Regions from separate parts of the Homo sapiens genome. Here regions 1, 2, 3, 4, 5 and 7 are each linked to region 6. Evidence: promoter capture Hi-C in 16 types of primary human blood cells and fetal thymus (Javierre and others, 2016). All regions are on one chromosome and are shown on one strand. Each heading gives the region's core, a stretch centred on a gene start or on the middle of the fragment in contact. The rest is flanking DNA. Distances are from core to core; before and after follow the strand shown. Region 1 has its middle 11 kb from the start of LINC02205. Region 2 overlaps LOC107984781 (a long non-coding RNA gene). Region 3 has its middle 120 kb from the start of PCAT29. Region 4 overlaps PCAT29 (prostate cancer associated transcript 29). Region 5 has its middle 6.1 kb from the start of LINC02205. Region 6 holds the start of TLE3 (TLE family member 3, transcriptional corepressor). Region 7 has its middle 33 kb from the start of LINC02205.

What was found. The method cuts DNA at HindIII sites, captures the fragments that hold promoters and counts their contacts. A CHiCAGO score of 5 or more calls a contact.
Region 1: a contact is called between a fragment that was not itself captured here and the fragment with the promoter of TLE3 in region 6, in 17 of 17 cell types (fetal thymus, non-activated CD4 T cells, monocytes and 14 more). The highest score is 24.6, in fetal thymus.
Region 2: a contact is called between a fragment that was not itself captured here and the fragment with the promoter of TLE3 in region 6, in 7 of 17 cell types (fetal thymus, naive CD8 T cells, total B cells and 4 more). The highest score is 13.7, in fetal thymus.
Region 3: a fragment that was not itself captured here is called in contact with the fragment with the promoter of TLE3 in region 6 in 9 of 17 cell types (activated CD4 T cells, naive CD8 T cells, total CD4 T cells and 6 more); the score reaches 14.1 in activated CD4 T cells.
Region 4: a contact is called between a fragment that was not itself captured here and the fragment with the promoter of TLE3 in region 6, in 3 of 17 cell types (activated CD4 T cells, non-activated CD4 T cells and neutrophils). The highest score is 7.0, in activated CD4 T cells.
Region 5: a fragment that was not itself captured here is called in contact with the fragment with the promoter of TLE3 in region 6 in 15 of 17 cell types (fetal thymus, M0 macrophages, monocytes and 12 more); the score reaches 13.2 in fetal thymus.
Region 7: a contact is called between a fragment that was not itself captured here and the fragment with the promoter of TLE3 in region 6, in 10 of 17 cell types (fetal thymus, M0 macrophages, total B cells and 7 more). The highest score is 15.1, in fetal thymus.

The regions. Positions count from the first base shown.
Region 1 is chr15:70,493,409-70,496,108 of GRCh38, forward strand. No RefSeq gene overlaps it. Among named protein-coding and RNA genes, the nearest start is that of LINC02205, 11 kb to the right of the region's middle. The HindIII fragment of the contact is 2,655 bases long and covers 1-2,621 here.
Region 2 is chr15:70,527,780-70,530,479 of GRCh38, forward strand. LOC107984781 (a long non-coding RNA gene) reads right to left here. Exons shown (of 2, transcript XR_007064698.1): 2 at 894-1,455. Among named protein-coding and RNA genes, the nearest start is that of LINC02205, 23 kb to the left of the region's middle. RefSeq lists an enhancer at 679-728. The HindIII fragment of the contact is 3,599 bases long and covers 1-2,700 here.
Region 3 is chr15:69,711,251-69,713,950 of GRCh38, forward strand. No RefSeq gene overlaps it. Among named protein-coding and RNA genes, the nearest start is that of PCAT29, 120 kb to the left of the region's middle. The HindIII fragment of the contact is 2,553 bases long and covers 149-2,700 here.
Region 4 is chr15:69,693,543-69,696,242 of GRCh38, forward strand. PCAT29 (prostate cancer associated transcript 29) reads left to right here. Exons shown (of 4, transcript NR_126438.1): 4 at 2,125-2,208. Among named protein-coding and RNA genes, the nearest start is that of PCAT29, 100 kb to the left of the region's middle. The HindIII fragment of the contact is 2,034 bases long and covers 324-2,357 here.
Region 5 is chr15:70,510,704-70,513,403 of GRCh38, forward strand. No RefSeq gene overlaps it. Among named protein-coding and RNA genes, the nearest start is that of LINC02205, 6.1 kb to the left of the region's middle. RefSeq lists an enhancer at 2,070-2,149. The HindIII fragment of the contact is 2,177 bases long and covers 257-2,433 here.
Region 6 is chr15:70,096,518-70,099,217 of GRCh38, forward strand. It overlaps TLE3 (TLE family member 3, transcriptional corepressor), which reads right to left and starts at 1,400. Exons shown (of 20, transcript NM_001105192.3): 1 at 258-1,400. The coding sequence starts at 281. RefSeq lists silencers at 539-658, 669-838, 2,428-2,507, 2,578-2,700 and an enhancer at 1,658-2,632. The HindIII fragment of the contact is 8,963 bases long and covers 1-2,700 here.
Region 7 is chr15:70,472,054-70,474,753 of GRCh38, forward strand. No RefSeq gene overlaps it. Among named protein-coding and RNA genes, the nearest start is that of LINC02205, 33 kb to the right of the region's middle. The HindIII fragment of the contact is 8,371 bases long and covers 1-2,700 here.

The sequences.
Region 1 (2,700 bases), core at 44-2,543, 400 kb after region 6:
GAGTTAGATAGATCTGGGTTTCAACTCCACCTACCTCATTGCCTTACTGTGATCCTGATCAAGTGATTTCAGTTTCTTCATCTGTAAAATGGGGAGCATAACATCACCCCTTCCAGATGTGTTGGGAGGAGTAACTGAGCTAATACACAAGCCTACACAGTATCTGGCACATAGTAGATGCTCAATAAATATGAGTGTCCTTCTTCTGCAGCACGATGACAGGGGTTCTGGTGAAGCAAGGACAGGCAGCAAAGTGTTGGGAAGAGCCCTGCAGTGGGAGTCAAGAGGCTTTGGATCCAATCCTGGCACTGCCTCCAACTTGCTGTGTGGTGTTAGGCCAGTTGGAGCACCTCTCTCATCTTTAGTTTTCAAGCATAAGTCTGGGATATGGGAGCAGATGGTTTCCAAGGTCTCCCTCAGCGGTGACACTCTAGGACAGGGGCTTGGTGCTGATAGGATAGTGACACTGCTCAGGGTGATGGGAACGGTGAGAGGGATGTGGTCGTGACCATTACTAGGTGCACGGTGCAGCTCATCGGCAACAGTGAAGACAGCAAAGCCAGTGGTGGCCCGGGCTGGGGCCCAAGCTCGCTCAGGCAGGGCCCAGGAGGTATCTCCAAGGACACTATGCTGAACAGTGAGAGTGGCCTGCGCTCAGGACAGGTGGGCACCCTCCACCAGCCAGCCTAGCCTCACCCACCATGCTCAGGAATCAGGCCCTTGTTCCCACCCAACAGGTGAGCACCAAGAGTCCCACGAAAGACTGAGGACCTCCTCTACCTTCAGGGAGTTTCTGCTGATGGAAGACAGACTTCACAATGCATGCTCATTAATTATTAACCATCATAACCACACATCAGAACATTGATTTACTGCTTGAGGTCGTGCCCTGTGTTAAGCCCTTAATGAGCATTATCTCATTTAATCCTCCTGACAACCCGGGATGAGGTCATCACTATCATTATTTCTATTCCGCAGCGGGAGGAAAATGAAATGCAGAGAGGTTATGCTCCCTGGCTCCACTGTAAGCAGCAGAATAAGGATTCCACAGAGGCTCAGGGGGAGCCTTGGGGCCTCCAGAGGAAAGGATCTTTCTGCTGGGAGATTGGGAAGGTGTCCCAGAGGTGGGGACATGCGAGTCAGGTGATGACAATCCTGGTTCTCATTTATCAAGCACTTGCTAATGTCACGCACTTCTAAGTCTTTAGGGGAGATTCTCATTTAGTCCTTACTTCCACCCCTGTGGCAGGTACTATTATTATTCCTGTTTTACTGAGGCACAGAGAGGTCAAGCCCTACCCTGTGCAGGGGAAAAGGAGGCCAAGCAGAGCGAATGGCTTGGAAGGTACCATGCTCAGGAAATGACAGGCGGTTGGTGTGGCTGGAGGCTTAGGTGCTGGCAATAGAGGTTAGAAAGGCAGGCAGGTGGGGCCAGGTCATGATTCCCCCACCTTCCCCCACAACACCCCCTGGGAGGAAGGGACCCAGGTCCTAGCCTCGCTCAAGAAATTGGCATTCAAACTTAGGGGCCTCCCCTTCCCGCCCAGTTCCCAAGGAGGCAGCCTGTTAGTCACCCTGTGACTGATACATTCAGACTCAGAGTAAGCAAACAGATCATAGGGGCCCCTAATCCCCTCACACCCAGAAAGCTGGGGAGAGGCTAGAGAGACAGGCCTGGAATCCATGGCCTCCGGGGGAGATAAGGAAACCTCATTCCACCCTCCTTCCCCAAACCAGTAGAGCAAAATGCCAGCGTGATTCATTTTTTGAAGACAGAATAAACAAGTCCAGAGAAGAGATTAAGTCTTTGTTTCACCCGACTCAAGACAGTTGGAAAAGCAGAATTAGAAATGCTGCAACCCAGGGTTGGCAAACAGAAAATTAGTGGCAGATTAATTTCATTGTCTCACTGGGGAACAGAATCCTGTATGTTAAGTATAGGTTTCAAGGGAGATTAATTTCCCATCTCACCAGGTTGGAGGGAGTCGCCTGCAGGGAGTTCACTGGAGTTCTCTGCCTCTGGAGAGCAGGGAGACCAGTTTCAATGGGGGAGAAGCAAGAATCCCCAGGGTATCACGACGGGGCTGAATGGGTTGCTGGGTCCAGGCCTCTCCTGTCAGCCCTGATAGCTGGAAGGGAAGCTCTGAGCTTTCAGCAACCCAGTGTACTACATCACAGCCCCTCTACATAGCTTTGCCTTCACGCGAAGGTATGCTCAGACCCATTCCTTCCTACTCACAAGCCCTTCTGTGCTCATTCTGCCCTTCCTTGGAACAGTCTTTATCTAGTGTTTACTAAGTGCCAATGCTTCCCTTAGAATCATTCGGTTAACTCTTGCAACAAAACCAAGAGGAATAACCATTATTATTTCCACTTTACAGATGAGAAAACTGGCACACAGAAAAAGATAAGTAGTAGAGCTGGTAAGTGGCAGAGCCAGGATTTGAGCCCAGGCCATCTGGAAACCAAATCTGTGCTCTTCACTTCAAGTTTATGCCGCTCCAAATACAGGGTTTGCTTAAAATGGAGCATGCTTGTACTACGTGGTGTTTCTCTGGGCTATTGTAGTGGCCCGTCTTGGAATGGTCCCCACCCTGCCCATAGGCTCTGCCCAAACTGGAAGCTTCTCGGGGAGAGATTGGAAAGTGGTCATTGGACCTAATGTGGTGGCCCCAGCTGCAGCTTCTACAGGTGGAGAGT
Region 2 (2,700 bases), core at 48-2,547, 430 kb after region 6:
CAGTGTTTTTGTTTGTTTGTTTGTTTGTTTGTTTGAGATGGAGTCTTGCTCTGTCGCCCAGGCTGGAGTGCAGCGGAGCAATCTCAGCTCACTGCAAGCTCCGCTTCCTGGGTTCATGCCATTCTCCTACCTCAGCCTCCTGAGCACTTTGGGAGGCCGAGGCAAGCGGATCACTTGAGGCCAAGAGATTGAGACCAGCCTGGCCAACATGGCAAAGCTCCCCATCTCTACTAAAAATACAAAAATTAGCCAGGCATGGTGGCGTACACCTGTAATCCCAGCTACTCAGGAGGCTGAGGCATGAGAATTGCTTGAACCCGGGAGATGGAGGTTGCAGTGAGCTGAGATCACGCCACTGCATTTCAGCCTGAGTGACAGAGCGAGACTGTCTCAAAAAAAACAAAAAAACGAAAAAACAGTTCTTTTATCAATAGCTCCTGTTTCTGAGCCCCACACCCCACCCTGTTTGTGATCCCAATTCTAATTGCTCTGAGTTGGTTCTCTGCCCTCCATTCAGTTCCATGGGCTCTGCTACATGCTTCCAATAAACTCCTTAACGCCTACATTAGCCACAGGACTTCCTGTTGCTTACACTCAAAGCACTCTAGCAGATAAGAGCTGGAAAGTGAAAGCAAAACAGGAACATAACCCAAGATCAAAGGCCCAGTCGCCCAGAAGAAGGCTTGAATCAGAGAGGCAGGCACTGACCCAGGGCACAGGGTGCATGAAGCCGGGGGTGAGCGCCCAAAGGACAGGAGTGCATGCCTTGGAGCTCAGATGTCACCCTATCAGGCAGGTGACATTGTTGTTGACATCTTAGATCAGTGGAAGTCAACCGTGAGGCACCCCAACCTTGGTTCTTAATGGTGTCAGATACAATATGACAGGCCAGGTCTTAATCCGCCAAGTGTTTATTTTAATTTTGACCAATATGAGAGGTAATTTTGGAAGGTAAATAGGCATTTTTTTTTTTTTTTGGCCTAGGATGACTTGAATGTCACTGTAAGAAAGCAGGGCACTGGGTTAGAATTATATATTCATTCATTAAACAAACATTTATTGAGCTCCTCTTCTGTGCAAATATCTGCTCTGGGCGCTGGGGAGACCAAAGTGACTAAGTCATAGGCTCTGCTTCTGAGCATGAGGAGGGACGGCGGCCAGCACACAGCATGCCCCAGCAGTGCATGGTAAGGACCCAGAGACTGGAACACATGGAGTTCAGATGCAGAGAAACCTCTTTGAGCTGACAGGGTCAGGAAGGTGATGTGGGGCCAGCATTCAAGGTGCTCCTTGAGGGAAAGAGAAGGTTTCACTGACAGCAATTCCAGATGCAGAGGAGAAAAAGAAAAATGGCAAGTGGTCTGAATTGGCTGGCATGCCTCCAGGCCCAGGCAGGATGAGGAGGTAGGCTGACGTCAGATTGTGGAAGATCAGGCTGAGAAGTCTGCATTTTACCTGTAGTCAATGGAGAGCCAGTAACAATTTGGAGCTGGAGAGGGACATCATCAAAGCAGCAAACTGCAGAGAATCTTGTCAACAATCTGCTTAGCAGATTGGGGAGGGGAGAGTCTGAGCAAAGTTCAAGCTACTTGGAGGCTACTGCAATAGTCCAAGCAGGACCCTTCCCCTAAAGTGAACAACAGGAAGATGGAGATGAAAAACCCTGACGTGAGAGCTTGGCATTGAAAACTAGATGGGCATGGTAGGAGGGGGCAAGCCAGGGGGCCTCAGGGTTTAGACTAGAACGGTTTCTCAGTTCCATTCGAATAACACACATTTTCCTGGCACCTCCTATGTGCACAGCATGTGTTAGCAGGTGGTGAGATGGCAAGGAAAATACTGGAAGGCCCAGGTCCTTATAAAAGGCCAGGGCTTTTCTAAAATGTGCTCCATGCATCCACATCTCACCTTCATCATTAGTGAGTGGACACTGCACCTCTCAATTTCCCCACTGCCAGGTTACCTGAGTGGAGGCTTGGAGGCAAGAGAAGAGAATTGCAACCCAGAGGAAAAACTACAACTCTTGTTAGCAGTGGCTACTCCTTAGGCCTAGGGGTATAAACCCAACTCCCAGCCAAGGCCTTCATCTGGCTAGTTTATGCCCTGCCTTCTAGACTGCCTCTGACTCTTACCCCGGATTAACTTCACCCCAAAACAATTGACAAGGCCAGCCTCTATTTGTTTCAGAGCCACAGCTATACTCTGCAGAGTTTTAGCCCAGACAAAACACTCAGAAGAGTGCACTGTGCATTGTCCCAAATCCCTTCCACATGGCATCTCTCACAAGAGGCTGGCAGCACAGGCAAGGCAGAGCTGTGCCAAGCCAGGCCATGCCTCTCCATCACTTCCAGCACGAAGGGCCAAAGCCCAGCCCACACGCCACTCCTACTTTGGTGAGGTCTTCACCTCACATCTCCTGGGAACAAAAGTGCAGACAAGAACAGACACACACAGATACAGACACACAGACACACACACACACAGACATACACTGACACACACAGACACACACGGGCACACAACACACAGACACATGACACACACACACGGACATAGACACAGCCACATAGACACACACAAACACACTCACAGTCACATAAACACACACTCACAGACACACAGATACACAACACACACAGACACACACACGGACACACAGACACACACAGCCACATACACAGACACACACAGACACTCAGA
Region 3 (2,700 bases), core at 175-2,674, 390 kb before region 6:
CACACTGCCTTGCCTATGACCTAGCACATAGTAGGTGCTCAGTAAACATAGCAGTGAAAGGAATCCTCGTATGTGTCCATCACAGCACCCAGGAGGGGCTGTTATTGACCTGCCCTGGACAGGTGTGTTGATGGGGCAGTGGATTAAAAGCTTTGTTTGCAGCAGCCCTGGGATTTGGAGTCTTGGAACAGGCTGATCTGGAGAAATGGCTCCTGTACTAAGTGTACATATGTATATGAGTGTGTGTGTGTGTGTGTGTGTGTGTGTGTGTGTGTGTCTTCTCTGTGGGCATGTATGCTGGGGTCTGGATATCTGCCATGCATGGGGGAAGATTGAGTTCCCCAGGATCTCATGTCTCTCCCCTGACTTCCAGAGGTTTCCTCCTGGGCACTAAACCACCAGCCCAACAACTCCAGAGTCAATACAGAGATGCTCTTGGAGGGCCCTCCACAGTCCTGTAAAAGAGACAACGTTCTTCAGAGGACCAGGGCATGGACTTGGAGCTGGATAGCCCTGTGCTCTGTAGCCTTGGACAGGTCTCTGATATCTTGGCTCCTCTGGGGTAATTACTTATGCAGGGCTTCTCTTGTGCCAGGTGTTGAGTGAAACCCCTTGCTTGGATTATCTGATTTAATCTTCATAAACACCTTAGGTTTTGCAGAAGGGAAACTGAGGCACAAAGCGGTTAGATTACTTGTCTTAGATCAAAAAACAGCTGAGTAAAGAGCAGGGGGCTGAAGTCAAGCAGTCTTAGCTCAAAGCGCATGTTCTTGAGTGCTGCACCCCACTCCTTTTCATAGAGTAAAGCCTGATGATACCTTCTTGTAGGATACTGAATTAATATAAATTAAATGGCATCTATGAAATGACTGGAACACTACAGAAATGCAATCTATGGAGGCTGATATAATCAATATCTATTTCAACCCTCCTCTCTTAAAGGTGAGGAAACTGAGGCATGGTTTATATACATGACTTGATAGTCAGCGTTGAGTATGGTAGTCTCAAAGTCATGTCTGCTGATGGCCAACCAGTTTCAGTTTTCATTATGCTGTGCCTTGTCAGGTAAAAATTAGAAAGAAAGGTAACCTAATATTTTGGAGGAATCAAGACTAAGAGAAAGGTGGGGTGGATAGGCACTTGAGGATATGTGAGGACTTTTCCCCATAACTTCCCAACCACCAACGATTTAGGTCCTAGGATCCCAATTTGCAATTTGCATATCTGGTCTCAGAGAAGTAGGTGACTTGCCTGAGGCCTTTGCATGATAAGAGAGGGCCATGATTTGAACTCTGGCCTGTCTAAGTTAGTGATTTTTTCCTACATTCCCAGCTCAAAAGTGGGGCCCAAGATTAAGCCCACAGTAGACACAATTGTGACTACAGATTGTGGTGGGGATGGGGCGGGCAGTCTCTTTATTGCTGCTCCTCCTTCATAGCATCAGGGGAGCTCCTGGGGCTGGGGAACAGGTACTCGGAGGGGCAGTGTGCCCTAGAGAAAGGGGCAGCTCTTGAAACAGGAAGTGGCTGGACTTTTTCTTGAGCACCAAGGAAGCCAAGAACAGCCATTTGGTCTTCATGTATCCAAGATAGCCTCTAGGGCCCCTTCTGCCCAGCAGGGTGACTTTCAAATGTCGGGAAGGTGATGTTGTACCCATAGGGTTGAGGGGTCATATGCCAGTGGCAGATAGAAAATATCTCAGAAATCTCAGGCTTTATTTTAAAAATGCGTGCAGAATTTAAGGAAATCTATTTCTTTCCCACAGCATATCCACGTGTGCATGTATGTTTGTGTGTGGGTATGCATAAGTGTGTATGCACATCGCAATTCTCTAACTAACCACTGTTCTAGGAAGAGCTGCTGTGCCTTTGGTATAGCTCCCTATACTCCCTGGAACCCTGCCATGTATTCATCACCCTCACTCTGGGATATGTGTACTACCCAGCAGGTCAAATACTTCCATTTCCTGAGCCTAGGGAGGAACTGGGCAAACAGTTAAGGGCTAAAGGGGCATAGTTCATAGTGAGGATCTGCTCAGTGTGGCTGAGCTGAAACAGGTCAGGAAGTTACAAGATTGCCTGATGTCACCCAGTAACTGTAAGACTAGAACTCTGGTCCCTAAGTCCTAGTTCAGCACACATTTCCACCTCCTCTGGGCCAGCTCCTGGGCAACAGAATATACTTGGTCATACTTCTTGCCTTGTCTGCCTACCTGGCACATTGCTGGGAAACAGGGCTTCTCTCTGGGAGCCCAACATTCTGGCAATCAAATATAAAGTATGACTTGTGCCCACCCCACTCCTCCCCACTACTGTGGCTGAAACGCTGTGATTCCCACACCTGGGCTCTCCCACTTGCCCTTTTGGATTTCTAGACAGGCAAGTGAGAAATATGTGATCTGTTTGGACTTGAGCAAGATATTTGGCAAGGTGTCTCATGCGCATCTCAAGGTGAAGAGTTAGGACTGGATGCTAGTGCAATTCAATAGATTAGGAACCGGTTAAAGGGCCATACCCAAATGGAATGGATAAATCTAACTACATCAGCCTAGATGAGGGTCTCTAGTGGCATGTCAAGGGACTCTGTCTTTGGCCATATCTTATTCAGCCCTTTTATCAATGACTGGAATGAAATAGGTGAGGGAAGGGTGAACATTTATTGAGAAACTCCTGTGTCAGCAACTATTGCCAATATTTTACA
Region 4 (2,700 bases), core at 91-2,590, 400 kb before region 6:
CCAAAGCCACCTTCTTCTATACATAGGGATTATAGTACAAATGTTTGTTGAATGAATAAATGAGTGACTAACAGTAACTGGGGGGCTCTGACTGTGAAAGGCTCTCATTTATGCCCCCAACGACTGTCAGTCAGGAAAACAGAGCTCACACAAGTTGTTTGAACAGAGAGATTTTAACGTAGGGAACTGAGTAAACAAGAATTGGAGGCGCAGAAAGACAGAAAGTGGCCATTGAGGACTTACAGAGATAGTAACTGCCAAAAGGCAGCTATACCTTTAGGACAGAGGAACAAAGAAAGAGATCAGGGTTATTAGAACCTGGAAGCTTGGAGAAGAAACTGCAGTGCTAGGACCTAAAACTCAGAGAAGCTGGTGCTGGCTGATTGGTGCTGATGTTGCTGGACATGCCAAGGTGGGTTCTGAGGGTGTGGCAAAAAGCCAGTGAACTGGAATTCACTGCTGGTGGAGTGATGTGGCCAGGAGTAAGCAGCAAATGGGATAGATGGGGTCTCTCCTTCTGCCTCTCTTTGTCCCTCCAAGAGTCAATGGGAGGGGGCCTAGTAAGGAGAAGCTAGTGAAGGGGAAATGTGGCTTGCAGGATTTCATCTCCAGGAGCACAAAGTAGAGAACAGAAGGGTGGATTTGGGGCCGAGGGACAAGAGTTTAATAACCAGCGCTCCTTGTTCCTGTTCTTTTGGAGCTTTTGTACAAATTAGAAAAAAGTATACCCTCTGGGCAGAATTAGCCCTGGGTCAGGGTGCATGGTGTGGTGGGTAGAGAAAGATGCTGCACCATACCTGGGCATAAGGTCGGCAGGAGAATATGGGCTGGATTTTACCCCCCAACTATCCTTTTCACCAGGTGTATTTGTATAGGGTACAACCTAGTGCAGTCGTATGTAATGGCCCTGCATCTGTCCAGCTATAAGCATTATAGTCCATTTGGTTACATGTGGGCATCACACACACACACAGACACACAGACACACACACACACACACACACACACACACAGACACCATGAAAGCACATTCTTTTCTTCTTTGGGAGCAGGGGTTTGGGGTGGTATATCAATCAGGAGGCCTCTGTTATCCCTGCTGTATCAACTCACTGGGTATGGGCCCCTTCTCAACATCAGGACCCAGGGTCTAACTTGTACAAATGTGCATCTATAGACAGAGCATTGACAACATACACATAATTTTCTCAGTAAATCTAGGATGAGAAACTGTTTCTGAGGGGGCTGTGGTGAACAAAGATGGGGAGTTAGGCCTTTTTAGACAGTAGGCGTTCAAGAAGTTTGAAAGGCTATTTCAGAATGCTTCATAACAGAGTTTTCAAATTGGTTGGGAGTCTGGAAATGACCTGGTAATAACGATTATGGTGATGAGAATAGTTGTCTTACACTAGGTTCTCTGGATCCAGACTGAGACAGAGGTGGTGTGAGAAGCTGGTAGGTGTTAGTGGGAAATCATCTGCGAGGAGGTGAGGAGGCAGACAGGGCAGAGGAAGAAGCTGAGAGACGTGCAGCTGCACCAGAGGCCCTGGCTGATCCGGGGACCTCTGGAACAAGGATGGCCCTTTAGGGTAGTCTCCAATTTAGGTAAGAAGCCTGGGCTGTGTGTCTACACATCGGCCCTTTATCGGCCATGGCCCCTCTTGGGAGGAGGCATGGCCTCGGAAGGAGAGCAGGTTTCTGATGAGTAATAACTGTGACCTTCCCATCGGCTGGAGGATTGGGGTCTTGGCTCTGAAGAGGGGATCTGGGCAGCATGCCGCTGCATCCACTACAATAGTGATGAGGGTGTCAATAGCTACCACCAGGCCATCACCTACACAAAAGCTAGATGTTTTGCCCATAAACCTGGTCCTCTCCAAGTCTCCCCCATCTGAGTGAGTGGTATTAACCTCCAACCCCACTTCTCAAAACAAAATCACCAGAGTCTTCCTTGATTCTCCCCTTTTCTCCTCTCACAATCTGTCAGTAGGAATTATTGGTTCCAGCTCCAAAAATACATTCTGAATCTGTCCACTCCTCTCCATTTCCATCCCTCCGGCCCAAGCCATTAAGTCCTCCGTGACCAACTGTAACAGCTTCCTAACACACCTCTTTCTTCCCATCCAGGTTGCCCCGACGGCCACTCTCCATACTGCTGCCAGAAGAACCTTGAAATATCGCTCTTTTTAATTAAAAAGCAAAACTCTTCAATTGTTTTTGTTGCATTTAAAGTTCAAACTTCTTACCACGGAGTGAAAGGCCCCACACAATTGGCCCTGTCTTCTTCTCCAACTTCCATTTTTCTTTGGTCCACCGTGTTCTAGCCGCATGGGCCCTGTCTTGATTCCTTGTACATGTCAAGCTTACTCTTGCTCCAGAGCCTGTGTGGTAGTTGTTCCCTCTGCCTGGAATGGCCTTCCCTAGAACCTGCCTTGGCTGGTTCTTCTTGCTATTCAAACCTCAGCTCCCACATCACCTCCTGTGTTAGGCCTCCCTGGACCACTCTAATTAAATTAGTACTGGAGACATCAGTCCACCTGGCTTCAGGGGCCAGGCCTTCCTCTTGCAGCCTAGAGGCTCTTTGCAGACTGCTCAAAGCTCCCTTTGCACAACTCAACCTGGCAGTGGGGCCTTACTTTCTATTTTTATGATCTCAGGGATGTCTAGAGACCTCGTTGGCCTGGCTACAGTACATCCTAACCG
Region 5 (2,700 bases), core at 95-2,594, 410 kb after region 6:
AAGCTTTCAATAAAATCCAACATCTCTTTATGATTAAAAAAAAACCCTCAACAAACTAGGCATCAAAAGAACATACTTCAGAAGACTAAGAACCATCTACAACAAACCCACAGCCAATATCAAACAGAATGGGCAAAAGCTGGAAGCATTCCCCTTAAGAACAGGAATAAGACAAGGATGCCCACTCCCACCACTCCTATTCAACATAGTACTGGAAGTCCTAGCCAGAGCAATTAGGCAAGACAAAGAAACAAAAAGCTTCCAAGTAGGAAAAGAAATCAAATTATCTCTCTTCACTGACAATATGATTCTATACCTAGAAAGCCCTAAAGACTCTGCCAAAAGGCTCCTAGAACTGATAAACAACTTCAGTAAAGTTTCAGGATACAAAGTTAATATACAAAAACCAGCAGCATTTTTATAAACCAATAATATTCAAGCTGAGAGCCACATCAAGAACTCAATCCCATTTACAATAGCCACTCAAAAAAAAAAAATACCTAGGAATACATCCAACCAAGGAAGTGAAAGATCTCTAAACAGAACACTACAAAACACTACTGAAATACTGAAAGAAATCATAGGTAACACAAACAAATGGAAAAATGTTCCATGTTTGTGGACTGGAAGAATCAATACTGTTATAATGGTCATACTGCCCAAAGCAATCTACAGATTTAATGCTATTCCTATCAAACTACCAACATCATTTTTCACAGAATTAGAAAAAAATTCATATGGAACACTTACAACCATTTGATCTTTGACAAAGTCAACAAAAATAAGCAATAGGAAAAGAAATCCCTATTCAATAAATATTTGATGCTGGGATAACTGACCAGCTATATGCAGAAGAATTAAACTGGACCCCTACATTTCACCATATACAAAACTTAACTCAAGATGGATTAAAGACTTAAATGTAAGACCTAAAACTATAAAAATCCTAGAAGAAAACCTGGGAAATACCATTCTGGACATCAGCCTTGTCAAAGAATTTATGACTAAGTCCTCAAAAGCAATTACAACAAAAACAAAAATTGACAAATGGGACATAATTAAGGAACTTCTGCACAGCAAAAGAAACTATCAACAGGGTAAACAGACAACCTACAGAATGGGAGAAAATATTCACAAACTATGCATCCAACAAAGGTTTAATATCCAGAATCTATAAGAAACTTAAACAATTAAACAAGCAAAAAAACAAATAACCTCATTAAAAAGTGGTCAAAGGACATAAACAGACACTTCTCAAAAGAAGACACACAAGTGTCTGACAAACGTATGAAAAAAATGTTCAATATCACTAATCATCCAAGAAATGCAAATCAAAACCACAATGAGACACCATCTCACACCAGTCAGAATGGCTATTATTTAAAAGTCAAAAAATAACAGATGCTGGCAAAGCTGTGGAGAGAAAGGAACACTTATACACTGTTGGTGGGAATGTAAATTAGTTCAGCCACTGTGAAAAGGCAGTTTGGAGATTTCTCAAAGAACTGAAAATAGAACTATTATTCAACCCAGCAAGCTCATTAGTGGGTATATACCCAAAGGAATATAAATTGTTCTGCCAAAAAGACACATGTAGTCGTGTATTCCTCACAGCACTGTTCACAATAGCAAAGATATTAAATCAACCCAGGTGCCCATCAGCAGTGGATTGGATAAAGAAAATGTGGTACATATACACCATGGAATACTATGCAGCCATAAAAAAGAATGAAATCATGTCCTTTGCAGCAACATGGATGCAGCCAAAGGCCATCATCTTAAGCAAATTAATGCAGAAATAGAAAACCAAATACTGCATGTTCTCACTTGTAAGTGAGAGCTAAACATGGACACATAAACACATGTCCATAAACACATGGACATAAAGATGAGAACAGACACTGGGGACCACCAGAGTGGGGAGAGAGGGAGAGGGGCAGGGGCTGAAAAACTACCTATTGGATACCATGCTTATTACCTGGGTGACAGGGTCATTCATATCCCAAACCTTGGCAACATGCAATATACTCGGGTAAGAAATCTGCACATGTAACCCCTGAATTCAAAATAATAGCTGAAATTTTAAAAAAGAATTTGCTGGTGGGGCACCCTTCGGAGTTGGCAGCAAACCAGGCGGTCGTCCCAGGTGAATCCTTGAAGGTAGGGCTGGCCCTACCCAAAATTATGTACTCCATGCTTGGCTCTACAGCACCCTCTTCCTGCCAAGTCAGGCCACTACCACTGTCAGTGCAGCCCAGAGACTTGAGCACCCCACAGTGGCCGCACCTCTGCTCTGCTGGCCCCAAGTAAATGGCACACACAGCATAGTGGCTCCAACACTGAAGATTTTTCCTGGACACAGCAGCCCGTGGCCCTTTGTTGAGCCACACAAAGACAAAGCAGCTCAATTGCGATACCTAGCAGGCTAATGTAAGCTTGTACTCCCCCAAATTAAAAGGGATCAGTGGCATATATTAGTTATGCTAGAAAAAGAAACAAGATAACATTTTTTTTTTTAACAGAAAAGCAAAAATGACAGAGGTGCAGAGTGGGGAGAGGTGGGGCGAAGAATGAGGGGAAAAAAATCAATTTTCCACAAACTACATTCCAGGGCACAAAGTGGAGAATGGGAAAATTAGTTTCCAGAACGACTCCTGTCTACTTTGTCCAAAAAATAAGGTTGACCTAGGAAAGTCTAGT
Region 6 (2,700 bases), core at 150-2,649:
GTTGGGAGACTTCAGAGCGGGGCCGGGGACCGCGTGAACAGCTCCCCCTGGAACACAAGCAGCCCCCCGCGCCACTCGCGCGGAATTAACCTCCTCTCTCAACGGCGCCCCCCGGCCGCATCCCCCTTTGTGTGAGAGCACACACACAAACACACACACCATAAAGGTAGCAACAAGCAAAATGGAGGTGCCAGATAAACTGCCTCGTTTACCCTGCCATGATAGATGCTTAAATAAACCGAGTTGCAATTACTCACCGGATGTCTGCCCTGCGGATACATGGCAGGGAGGGGTCGTGATTCCGAGAGCGTGGAAGCGCCGAGAGCCCGGGCCGGGGAGGTGCGGGGGAGGGGGGAGCCGAGCCCGAGCGGGGGGCGGCCGGGAAACCGAGAGCTCGCCCCCGGCCCCCCCAGCTCGTTCTCGCAGCGAAATCCCAGAGTCGGGCGCCCGCCCCAAGTGGAGACAAAGAGCCGCGGAGCAGGCGGCAAAGTCGTCGGCGGGCGCCGGGGCCGGGCGGCGGGCGCGGGCTTTGTGCGCCTAGGGCTCGGCGGGCAGCGGCCGGCCGCCTTCCCTGGGCTGCGTCGAGCGCGTCAATGCCTGGGACTGCGCGGACATCGTCGGCTCCCCAGCAGGTCCGGCGCGGGGTCCCGAGGCCGGGGGCCCCTCCTGGGGCGAGCTCGGGCCCCCTCCGGGTCACTCAGCGGGTCGCGCCTGTAGGGGGGCGCGCCGGGGCAGCCCCAAGCATCCGGGGCGCGCGGGTCCGATCCTAGAGGCGTCCGGGCCTGGGGCTCGCGGCGAGAAGAGGAAGGAGGCGGGCTACGAGGTGGTGGCTTGGGGCCGCAGGAGCGCCGGAGGGTGAGGGCGGGAGCCCGGCGCGGGCGCTTCGACGCCCCCCCTCGGAGAGGAGAGCCTGCTGTTCCGTCTGCTACTGCCGCTGCCGCCGCCGCCGCCGCCGCTGCAAGCCCTTCCCAGGGCCGGGGAGGAACTCCGGGCTCAGTAGGTGCAAATCAAACGCCCTGGCATCCTAAGTCCAGCGGGCACGGGAAGCCTCCGCAAAGGGTTCTCGCTGCTCCCAGCTTGAGCACCGCGTCCCCACCGAGGAGCGCTCAGCGCCACCGCCGCTGCCGCGTCGGAGCGCACAGGCAGGAGAGCGCTGGAGGGGAGACGCAGCCCGAGACCGGGGAGCTCTACGGCTTCCTTCCTTCCCCTCGGCCCGGCTCTCCTCTCCGCGCCCCGGCAAACCCCCAAAACACACACACCCAACACACACACACGCGCGCACGCACACACACACACACCAAAAAAAAAAGTGCCCCGGACCTACGGATACCACACACAGACAGGCGAAGGGGACGAGCACGAGGTCTGAACTGCCGCGAGAGCAGTTCCAAATAGGGACTGAAAAGTAACAAAATAATGTGGCAGCTTCGTCCGGCGCTGGCCAATGGGAGCGCGGGGCCCCCACGTGGGGCTGCGGGACTCGGCCTACGACTGGGTGCCGCTGGGCGCGACGTCACAATGCCCTCTTGTGTCTAAAACTATGCATGAAAAGTAGCAATCAGGCCCTACCCGCTGGTGACTTTCGCATGGGAGTGAAAAACAGCGCTCCTCAGATCAGGAATTAACCGAAAGACATATAATAAATAGATATATATTATAGTCCTGGGCTGCTCGAGTTTTTTTCCTCCTTTTTTTTCCCACGGTCTACTAGCAAATAATTATTTAGCGGGAGGAGGAAAGAGGGAAGACAGAGGAATAACAACAAAAGAAAATAAGACAAGCTGTACAATCTTCAAAACCTGTGGCTGGTAGTAATGTATCAGTTTATTCTGCAGCGGCGGCGAACGATTCCTCCCTCTAATCTCATTAGGTCTGCAAAGCAGCCCAATTAGATACTATAAAACAAACAATCACTTTGTCACTTTAATGTTTTCACTTCAAAAGATTTAGGACTGATAAAACGGTGGCTCCTAAAGTTGCCTCCGACCTTTAAAAATTTGCTCGGAACTCAGGATGTCCCCTTTTCTTCACCCCTTCTTCTGCCCGCCTCCCCCACATTAGCCCCCAGCTCTCCTTTGTTCACTCGCCCTTCTTTTCAGAAAGCCAAATAAACAGCTCCTTTGATGTGCGGCGGCTGCCTGCGAGGAGAAGTCTGAGGGACTCTGGCTAGGCGGGCAGCGCAGATGGAAGGGCCCGGCTGCCCGTGGACAACAGGCTCAGCCACGGCTGGCCCCATTCGGGGCGCCTTCCCCGTGGGCACAACTTCACCCTCGACGCAGCCTCGCCGCGCGGGCTCCTCACTGCATCCCCAGGCTGAGGGGGTTGGGGATGGGGTCGGGACCCTGCTCGGCCGAGGCCCGGGAACTCCGAGTTCCCACCTGGTTTGCTCAGCCTGCTCCCGGCAGTGCCACGGCGTTGGCGGAAGCCTGTAGGTGTCTCGGTCGCTAGCCTGGACACTCCGAGGGACGCGGACGCTCCCCCGCTCGCTCGCCCCGGCCCCGGGCCCCCCGGACCCCCCGCTTGGTCGCACAGGCCACTCGACTCCGGGGCCAGCTTGCCCGCAAACCGATGGCCTCGCCCTCCCGCGCTCGGGGTTACGGCGGGGCAGACGAGCAAGCAGGGAGTGGACCTCAAAGCGCGCACCGCCCGGTGGACGGCCAAGGCGGGACCCCCGGGGCCCTCCCCGGCAAGTCCGCGAGC
Region 7 (2,700 bases), core at 50-2,549, 380 kb after region 6:
ATACCACAGACTGGGTAATAGATAAAGAACAGAAATTTATTCCTCACAGTTCTGGAAGCTGGAAGTCCAAGATGAAGATGCTGGTGGGTTCCATGTCTGGCAGGTGAGGACTAGTCTCTGCTTCTAAGATGGTGCCTTAAACACCGTGCTCCAGAGGGGATGATACTGTGTCCTCACACAGCAGAAGGGCAGAAGAGAAAAAGGACAAAAGAACCTAGCTAGTTCCCTCCGGCCCTTTTGTAGGGCACTAATCCCATCCGTGGGGCGGAGCCCCCCTAAAGGCCCCACCTCCTAATATGATTGCATTGGAGATTAAGTTTCAACATAATTTTGGAGAGGATGCAAATGTTCTAACCATAGCAATATGCAAACAGTCCTGAGACTACCCCCGCCCCCCACCTCCTCTACTGGGCTGTCACACTCAGGGCCCCTATGCCCCTTCCCCAGTCACCCCAGGGCCAGGTACCAAACAACTAGGGACTGTGTCCCAGAACCTTACATTATTCAAACTAGCCGATCCTAAACCTGCTTGCCCTGCCCTGCCCATCCATTCCCATAGAAACCACCACAAAAGTTCCTGCCCATGTTTTCCCCTCGCCCCCTGCCTCCTGACTGCCCCTGGTGTTTCCCCACGTGGCCCCGCATGGTGTGGCATGCTCCCTTCTCCTGGAACTGTGAGTAACAAGTTTTCCATGGCATCAGCTCCTGATTTATTGGCCGTGCCATACCTGAATGATAATAAAGCCTACATCTTCAATGTAGAGGGAAGGAGGAAGGGAGGGAGGGAGGGGAAAGGTGGATGGAAGAAAAGAAGGAAGGAAGGGGGTTAGATGGATGGATGGATAAAAGGAAGAAAGCAAGGGAGGATGAAATCAACCTGGGCCTCAAGTTTCCACAGGAATGATCTGACTATAACTTTGCTCCATGGTTGAAAAGAAGCAGCTTTCTCCTACCAAGTTTTGGCTGTGTTTGGGAGAATGTACCTTCACAGTGCCACAGGCCAGCAATCAATACAGCATCTTCTCACTCCCTTTGCAGACAGAAAGACCTGGATCTGAATCCTGGCCCTGCCATTCACTGGCCATGAGACCATGGCCAACTGACTTAACCTGTGTGCGAGACACACACATGTATATGTCTACCTTCCGAGTTCCCTGATGCTAGAACCAGAAGATGCAGGCATAGCATGGTTTCCAGCACAGAGTACGCACTCCCCGACATTCATAATGAGTATTATTATTCGGCTATTCTGCAGTCCCGCACCCCAAGTGCCATCTGTTAGAAAGACTGTGCTATTTGGTCTAAATGTCTTCCTCACCCAGAAGCCCCTATTTGGGGCTCTTGGTCTCTGCCTCACCAAAAGCCATGCTAATCCCTTCCTGGTCCCCAGTCCGGAGTTCAGGGCTCGGCAGGCAAACGCGTGCTCCCTATCCAAAGGACTAGAAGGGCCCTACAACGCACCACATGCCTACATTTCACAGACCTCTCTTCTGGAGTTACGCTGACCCCTCCCCATTGAGAGGCTGCTTGGCTTTCCCTGCTGCTTTTAAAGTGAGAAGGGGGAGGACCTTTACGCTGGAATCGCATTTCAATTTCCCCATCTCCCCTGTACACCATCACTCAGTAAAAATAGCTAATTTTAAAATGGCTGCTCTTATGATGGACGAGATTAATGGATCTTGAAGAGCAGCCAGTATACCAACTGCTCCTGCAGCCATGATGAAAGCTAATAATGTAGAAAATTCTGCCAATTCCTTTAATTCATGAATATTTAAGCCTGTGAAAAATCTGTCAGATTATATCATTTTTTTCTGGTGATTTTCCGCCTAAGTACGTTCATGGCAGCCTGCCAGTTGCTCAAGAAACTTCAGCAGGAGCAAAATCATTTTTGTTGTTGTTGTTACTATGGACGGCCGTCTTCTCCTTGCTGAATTTATCCCCTCATCCCCGGGTGGAGGATCAGGTGCACTCGAGACAGCTAAAGGCAACCACGGTGATTTCCCCCAGCAGGCACAGATTCCTCTCCCAACCCAAAGGCTGGCAGGGGCTTTTGTGAAAGGAGACCATGGTTTTCAAATTGTGTTCCACGGCACCCAAGTCTTCCTCCTTGGGGCCCGGGGGGATCACTGGGAGGGGTTTGGGCTGGACATGCTGCGTGCATGGGGCTGCCGGACCCAACTCCCACTTGCACCAAGCAGTTCTGTTTGGTGCATTGAGATTCCCTGCAAATAAGTGTTGCCCCAACTTAAAACAATTTGAAAGGCATGAGCATGGAAACCACAGCTCTAACCCACCCCTCCCGGCTTGAACAACAAAGGGAGAAACTCAGCCCCCATGATGGTAACTGGTAAGCCCACCTCATGGGAAGCACTAGCAGTGGCACCTGAGCGGCAACCAGGATCCTTAACTGCAAGTGAGCGCTCTCTCCCCATCTCCAGCACACTCTGGGTGACCTCTTGGGCTCTGCCTGTTTGGGGAAGGCAGGAAATGAGGCTCAGATGGGCCACGCTCCCCAGCCACAGTGGAAAGTCCTCTCTGAAGCCAAGATGTTTCCTTGCAAAGACAAGAGAGAGCGAGAGAGAATGAGCATGTTTAGTGACTTGAGAGGGAGGGAGGGGTGGCCAACTTCAGAGATGATTATCATTCAGGGACTTGTTGGCTGGAGGAAGGAGCGAGCTTCTTTTTATAGGAGCTCCAGTT